Linked DNA regions of Homo sapiens: region 1 is linked to region 2. Evidence: promoter capture Hi-C in 16 types of primary human blood cells and fetal thymus (Javierre and others, 2016). All regions are on one chromosome and are shown on one strand. The core of a region is centred on a gene start or on the middle of the fragment in contact, and the rest is flanking DNA. Distances in the headings are between cores, read along the strand shown.

Evidence for each region. Contacts are between HindIII fragments. The CHiCAGO score rates a contact against its expected background, and 5 or more counts as called.
Region 1: a contact is called between the fragment with the promoter of H2AC18 here and a fragment that was not itself captured in region 2, in 9 of 17 cell types (naive CD8 T cells, total CD8 T cells, total CD4 T cells and 6 more). The highest score is 7.3, in naive CD8 T cells.

What each region holds. Positions count from the first base shown.
Region 1 is chr1:149,840,662-149,844,135 of GRCh38, reverse strand. H2AC18 (H2A clustered histone 18) reads left to right here and starts at 1,386. Exons shown (of 1, transcript NM_003516.3): 1 at 1,386-1,918. The coding sequence starts at 1,438. The coding sequence ends at 1,830. H3C14 (H3 clustered histone 14) reads left to right here and starts at 2,928. Exons shown (of 1, transcript NM_021059.3): 1 at 2,928-3,449. The coding sequence starts at 2,979. The coding sequence ends at 3,389. It also overlaps the pseudogene H2BC19P. RefSeq lists an enhancer at 3,087-3,474. The HindIII fragment of the contact is 2,631 bases long and covers 101-2,731 here.
Region 2 is chr1:149,959,736-149,962,879 of GRCh38, reverse strand. OTUD7B (OTU deubiquitinase 7B) reads left to right here. Exons shown (of 12, transcript NM_020205.4): 7 at 3,084-3,144. Among named protein-coding and RNA genes, the nearest start is that of MTMR11, 24 kb to the right of the region's middle. The HindIII fragment of the contact is 2,620 bases long and covers 523-3,142 here.

The DNA of each region.
Region 1 (3,474 bases), core at 137-2,636, 120 kb after region 2:
AAAACTTACTTAATTTTTCATTACATTTCTTGCCCAGAAAATTGTAAAATACCCAACGATAACAATGGGGAATTGTCTATCAGCACTTGACTAAAAAGCTTTACTATCCATGACAGCAGCCTTTGCATTACTCAATTCTGATGGCATTTAACGTCTTGAAACCCAGAAATAAATACCTATAGACTCACAGTACCTGAAAGGAATACCAAATTGAGACAAGAGAGCTATATAAACCAAAAATTGCTTCAACCACAGAATGGAGGTCTACAGGTGCGGAAGGAAAGTTTATATGGTGAGGCTTGGTCGCAAAACTATTAGGAATATTTTCAGGTTACTACACAATTTTGCGAGCTCAATATGCAGTTAACACTTTTTCCCTTGACTCTCCTGAGCAGATTTACATTGACCGCACCCGTAGCATATCGTCTCACTTTGGAAAAGGCAAATTATGTGCACATGACCCTGTCACTACAAGGTAGTTCTCGACCAAGCTACATCTTATAGCTTTATCTTATATTCCTCTCCCATCATCTGCAGGAAAAGGGATAGGTGCTGAGGGAAAACCCCTAAGTAGAACTCACAGTAAGCAGTGGGAAAACAGCTTATTTCACTAACGGGGTTAAGTGGCCCTGAAAAGAGCCTTTGGAGACAAAGCAGCCGGCGACCCGCGGAGGGAGGGAGGGAGGGAGCGAGCGAGCGCCAGGTCCCGGCAGGGACTCACTTGGAGCTGGCGTACTTGGTGACCGCCTTGGTGCCCTCGGACACGGCGTGCTTGGCCAGCTCGCCGGGCAGCAGCAGGCGCACGGCCGTCTGGATCTCCGGGACGTGATGGTGGAGCGCTTGTTGTAGTGCGCCAGGCGGGACGCCTCTCCCGCGATGCGCTCGAAGATGTCGTTGAGGAAGGAGTTCATGATGCCCATGGCCTTGCACCAGATGCCGGTGTCGGGGTGGACCCGCTTCAGCACCTTGTACACGTAGATGGAGTAGCTCTCCTTGCGGCTGCGCTTGCGCTTCTTGCCGTCTTTCTTCTGGGCTTTGGTGACGGCTTTCTTGGAGCCCTTCTTGGGAGCCGGCGCGAACTTTGCAGGCTCAGGCATGGCCAGACCCAAGACCGACACCGACCCCCGAGAACGCAAGCAGAGCGGTAGGCTCGGGGTCTACCGGAAACGACTGTGTACTTACAGAGGCTGTGCGCATGACGCTGCGTTATGGTTCGCGAGTTTTCCGCGGCGCGCAATGCGAGGGAGACGAGATTATGTAAATGAGTGGATTCTGGCTGAGCTATCCTATTGGCTATCGGGACAAAATTTGCTTGAGCCAATCAAAGTGCTCCGTGGACAATCGCCGTTCTGTCTATAAAAAGGTGAAGCAGCGGCGTTTTCGGCGACTTTCCCGATCGCCAGGCAGGAGTTTCTCTCGGTGACTACTATCGCTGTCATGTCTGGTCGTGGCAAGCAAGGAGGCAAGGCCCGCGCCAAGGCCAAGTCGCGCTCGTCCCGCGCTGGCCTTCAGTTCCCGGTAGGGCGAGTGCATCGCTTGCTGCGCAAAGGCAACTACGCGGAGCGAGTGGGGGCCGGCGCGCCCGTCTACATGGCTGCGGTCCTCGAGTATCTGACCGCCGAGATCCTGGAGCTGGCGGGCAACGCGGCTCGGGACAACAAGAAGACGCGCATCATCCCTCGTCACCTCCAGCTGGCCATCCGCAACGACGAGGAACTGAACAAGCTGCTGGGCAAAGTCACCATCGCCCAGGGCGGCGTCTTGCCTAACATCCAGGCCGTACTGCTCCCTAAGAAGACGGAGAGTCACCACAAGGCAAAGGGCAAGTGAGGCTGACGTCCGGCCCAAGTGGGCCCAGCCCGGCCCGCGTCTCGAAGGGGCACCTGTGAACTCAAAAGGCTCTTTTCAGAGCCACCCACGTTTTCAAATAAAAGAGTTGTTAATGCTGGCCACTCTCAGTCCAGCGTTCCTCAGTAGTGAATAGCGAACCTGGAGCTGACGGGACGGGACGGGACGGGACGGGACGGGACGGGGCGGGGCGGGGCGGGGTGTGTGTGTGTGCGCGCCGTCTTCCATCTGGAGCACGTAACTGCCTTGGCTCTTCGATGAGTGGGTCCCCAGTCCTAGGACTTCCCAGGGCAGGTGCAGGCACCAAACGTCCTGGGCGCCGCCACGGTCCGCTCCACACAGTCACAAACACCAGCGCCGCGGGCAGTACCCAACGCGCTGAAGTGTTGCGCGCGGAGCGCGCGCTTCCCTAGTGGTTTCCGCAGGCTATGGCCGGACACTTAGACCTAGTCTGGCACCAGCGGGACGTGCTCCTCGTCCCCACCCCCGATGGGGAGGGCCCTGAGCGGGTAGTGCTCGCTAGTGTGGCGGAGCTGGGTCTTGGCTTCACTGAGCTGACTTAAGTCTTAGTTTCTGTTTTGTTTTCCAAAGCGCCCTGGCGGCGGAGAGTAAGGGCCTCGGAGGCGGAATCTTGCGTCCTGGGGGCGGGCACCTCTCCCACCCAAAAGGCACCCGACAGGCGAAAAACGATCCGCCAAGTAGCAACTGGGGGCGGGGGGCAAATGGAAGAATGAGGTTCCACGCGGGAGCTGTAGGGCGCAGCAAGAAAGGGGGGGTATTGCGGGCAGTGTGTTCTAAGGAAGCGAAGGGCGGAAAGGGAACAATCTGACAAAGCTGCAATGGAAAATGACTTTCACCCTGAAGGAAAGGGGAAAAACAAGCTTGCGAAACTTCGCCAACTGGTAAGTAGAAAGTGAGGCGGGGTGGGCGGGATTAGGGAGGAATCTGCCCAAGCCAACCGGTGACTTTAGGACGGGTGACGTCACAGCCAATGGACAGCCAGCGCGGGATTTTCAATTATTGTTCCGCCCAATCGGGAAAAGACTGTGCTTATAAAGACGGCTGCGGCGGGGCTAGGAGCTCGTTTTTCTCCCCGCCGCTGCGCTGGTAAGCCTGTGTTTTGGTTCGCTATGGCCCGTACTAAGCAGACTGCTCGCAAGTCGACCGGCGGCAAGGCCCCGAGGAAGCAGCTGGCCACCAAGGCGGCCCGCAAGAGCGCGCCGGCCACGGGCGGGGTGAAGAAGCCGCACCGCTACCGGCCCGGCACCGTAGCCCTGCGGGAGATCCGGCGCTACCAGAAGTCCACGGAGCTGCTGATCCGCAAGCTGCCCTTCCAGCGGCTGGTACGCGAGATCGCGCAGGACTTTAAGACGGACCTGCGCTTCCAGAGCTCGGCCGTGATGGCGCTGCAGGAGGCCAGCGAGGCCTACCTGGTGGGGCTGTTCGAAGACACGAACCTGTGCGCCATCCACGCCAAGCGCGTGACCATTATGCCCAAGGACATCCAGCTGGCCCGCCGCATCCGTGGAGAGCGGGCTTAAGAAGTGGCGGTTCGGCCGGAGGTTCCATCGTATCCAAAAGGCTCTTTTCAGAGCCACCCACATCAGCACTTGGAAGAAGCTGTAC
Region 2 (3,144 bases), core at 583-3,082:
TAGAGCTAGCCTAGAATTTAGAATCCAGAGCAAATCAGTAGTCAGTTTTGTGGTAGTCAGCTTTGTCCTCTTCACTGTTGAGTTCAGATAATACCGGAACCTTAACCACTGCAGAGGCAAGAAAAGGCCAAACCAGAACATGCCAACTATTAAGTAGAAATGACAGCAACACCCAGAAAATTAAGTGTGCCCAATTCCAGTTATTAAAGCAATTAGTTATTATTCTAAAGATGGGGTTAGATTATAATGGTATTTAGCCAGGAAACCCAGAAATACCCACGTTCTATCCTTGGCCAGCCAGCCTTTCCCTCTCAAAGTCAGCCTTTCCATCTGAAAGTCCCCAACATGCATAGAGAATAGTGGCTAGTAATGGAGCAATAGTTTTAGTCCTTTTGCTCAGCACAGTGAAAGTTCATACTGAAAATGTGGCTTTCATAATTGTCTTAGCTTAGACCATTCATAGCATTATTACCCACCTTGGGAGTGGGAATGGTAGGAGGAGGATAATGAACTGGGGAAGCTTCCTTTAGCTCCCCAGTACCAAAACCACACTAAATAAGTTTTGATTTCCTGGGCTTCCTTGTTTTATGTTGAAATTGGTGGTGAGGCTCAGTAATAGTTTCTTAAATGTTAAGGCTAGAAGTTGTACACCACCTAGTGGCTGTGTACATTAAAACAGGAAGCAGAAACCGGCCAGGAAGAGGGAGCCGGATCTGGATGTGTCTATTGGAGTGACTGCAGCACTCCATATAGAACCTGGGCATTGCTCTCTTTATTTTTAATTGAAGTAAAATTTGTGATAGCATTTTACAAATTGAAAATAGCTGTGTCATTTAAAAAATTCCCATTAAATTTGTTCCCAGTACCCCTCATGTTTCCAGTGATTTCCTTCTACTCTGTCAGTGTGCGGTTAAGCCGTATAGACTCATTTTAATACTAATGTCAGCCAAATAAAATTAATAAGTTAAACTTATTTCCCTTATCATTATATACATCCTAAAGCCAATGTATTTTAAAATTGCTTGTACCATTGCCTGCTCTCCTTTGATAAAAATTGTAGTTTCACTTAGCATATGTTTATTGATTATAGTCACAAAATAGACCTTGGGTGTATTGCATAAAACATGATCCTAGCATAGAGGAGGAGATGGACATGTAAATACATAATTGCAACAGGTTATAACATGTATGACTCTTACAATAGACGTCTCTATAGCAGTTAATGCTGGCCGGATGCGGTGGCTCATGCCTGTAATCCCAGCACTTTGGAAGGCCAAGGCAGGCGGATCACCTGTTGGTAGTTCGAGACCAGCCTGGCCAACATGGTGAAACCCCGTCTTTACTAAAAATACAAAACTAGCCAGGCATGGTGGTGTGCACGTGTAGTCCCAGCTACTCCGGAGGCTGAGGCAGGAGAATTGCTTGAACCTGGGAGGTGGAGGTTGCAGTGAGCCAAGATCATGCCACCACACTCCATCCTGGGTGACAGAGCAAGACTTTGTCTCAAACAAACAAACAAAAAAACAACAACAACTCTATAGCAGTTAGGGAGAGAGGATACAAAGGAAGGAGTGGTTGATCTGCCAAGGGAGATTTAGAAGACTATTTGGAGGAATGATACCTGAGTTCTGTCCTAAAAGTTGAGAAATTGTTCACAAGGTTGACAGAAAGTGAGCTACTCCAGGCAGAAGGAACAGCTTAGACAAAAGCTCAGTGGTATAAAACAACATGGTATATTTCAGGAACTACAGCTGATTCAGTGAGATATATCTGACTAGAGAAGTGGGTAGGGGCCAGAAAGTAGGCTTTGTATGCAGCACTTCTACTTGGGAGGCTGAGGCAGGAGAATTGCTTGAACCCGGGAGGTGGAGGTTGCAGTGAGCTGAGATCGTTCCACTGTACTCCAGCCTGGGCGACAGAGTGAGACTCTGTCTCAAAAAAAAAAAAAAAAAAAAAGAAGGTATCCAGGTGTGGGGTGGGTGAAAGAAAGAAAGGAATATTAGATAATTCCTTGGTTTTGAGCTTGGATGTTTGGGTGATAGTTGGTGCTATTCACTAAGGTAGGAAAATAGGAAGAAGAGTGGGTTTGGGAAAAAACAGGAGTTCTATTTTGACTTTACAGAGTTTGAGGTAGCCATGGGCAGGTGGCAGTCTCCAGTAGGTAGCTGGATATATGAATATAGAAATTAAGAAGTCTAGGCTGAGTGCAGTGCCTCATGCCTGTAATCCCAGCATTTTGGGTGGCTGAGACAGGCAGATCACCAGGTCAGGAGTTCGAGACCAGCCTGGCCAACATGGGGAAAGCCCGTCTCTACTAAAAATACAAAAATTAGCTGGGCCTGGTGGTGGGTGCTGTAATCCCAGCTACTCGAGAGGCTGAGGCAGGAGAAGCATTTGAACCCGGGAGGTGAAGTTTGCAGTGAGCCGAGATTGTGCCATTGCACTCCAGCCTGGGTGACTCTGTCTACAAAAAAAAAAAAAAGAAAAAAAGGAAAGAAAAGAAAAAGAAAAGAAATTAAGAAATCTGGGCTGGAGATAGATGGTATATACCATACAGATGGTAGTGGATGAGATTATGGCAGTAGAAGAGATCACCCAGAGGGAACCAAGGTGAAAATCATTGACACACCACTAGTATTTTGGGGGCAGACAGAATTTAGAGGAATAGAAAGTAATTTTATGGACGCTAATGGCAAAGAAAATTTAAAGAGGAAAATAACCCATGTGAAGGCTAAGATGGGAACCAGGGTCCACTGAATGTGGCAATTAGAAGGTCATTGTTCTTTGCCAAAATCAGGTAGGTGAAATGTTATGTGGCAGGTGGGTGAGCAGGATGGAGGGCAGAAATGGGACAGATTGCAGTAGGTCAAAAAGAATGGATGATAAAGAAGTTTAATAGTCATAGACTATTAGTTCATGGATCTTGACTGTAAAAGAGATAAGAGATTTGACTTTGTAGTACAATTTGTAAACCAAGTGCTAAGGGATTAGGGAGTAAGTAACAGTGAATAAGGTGGAATAGGTATTGCCTCTTAGAACCCAGCCTCTAATTGCCCAATGTCCCCTGCCTGTCCTTCACACAGTCAGGGCTGGTATACACAGAAGATGAATGGCAGAAGGAGTGGAATGAACTGATCAAGCTTG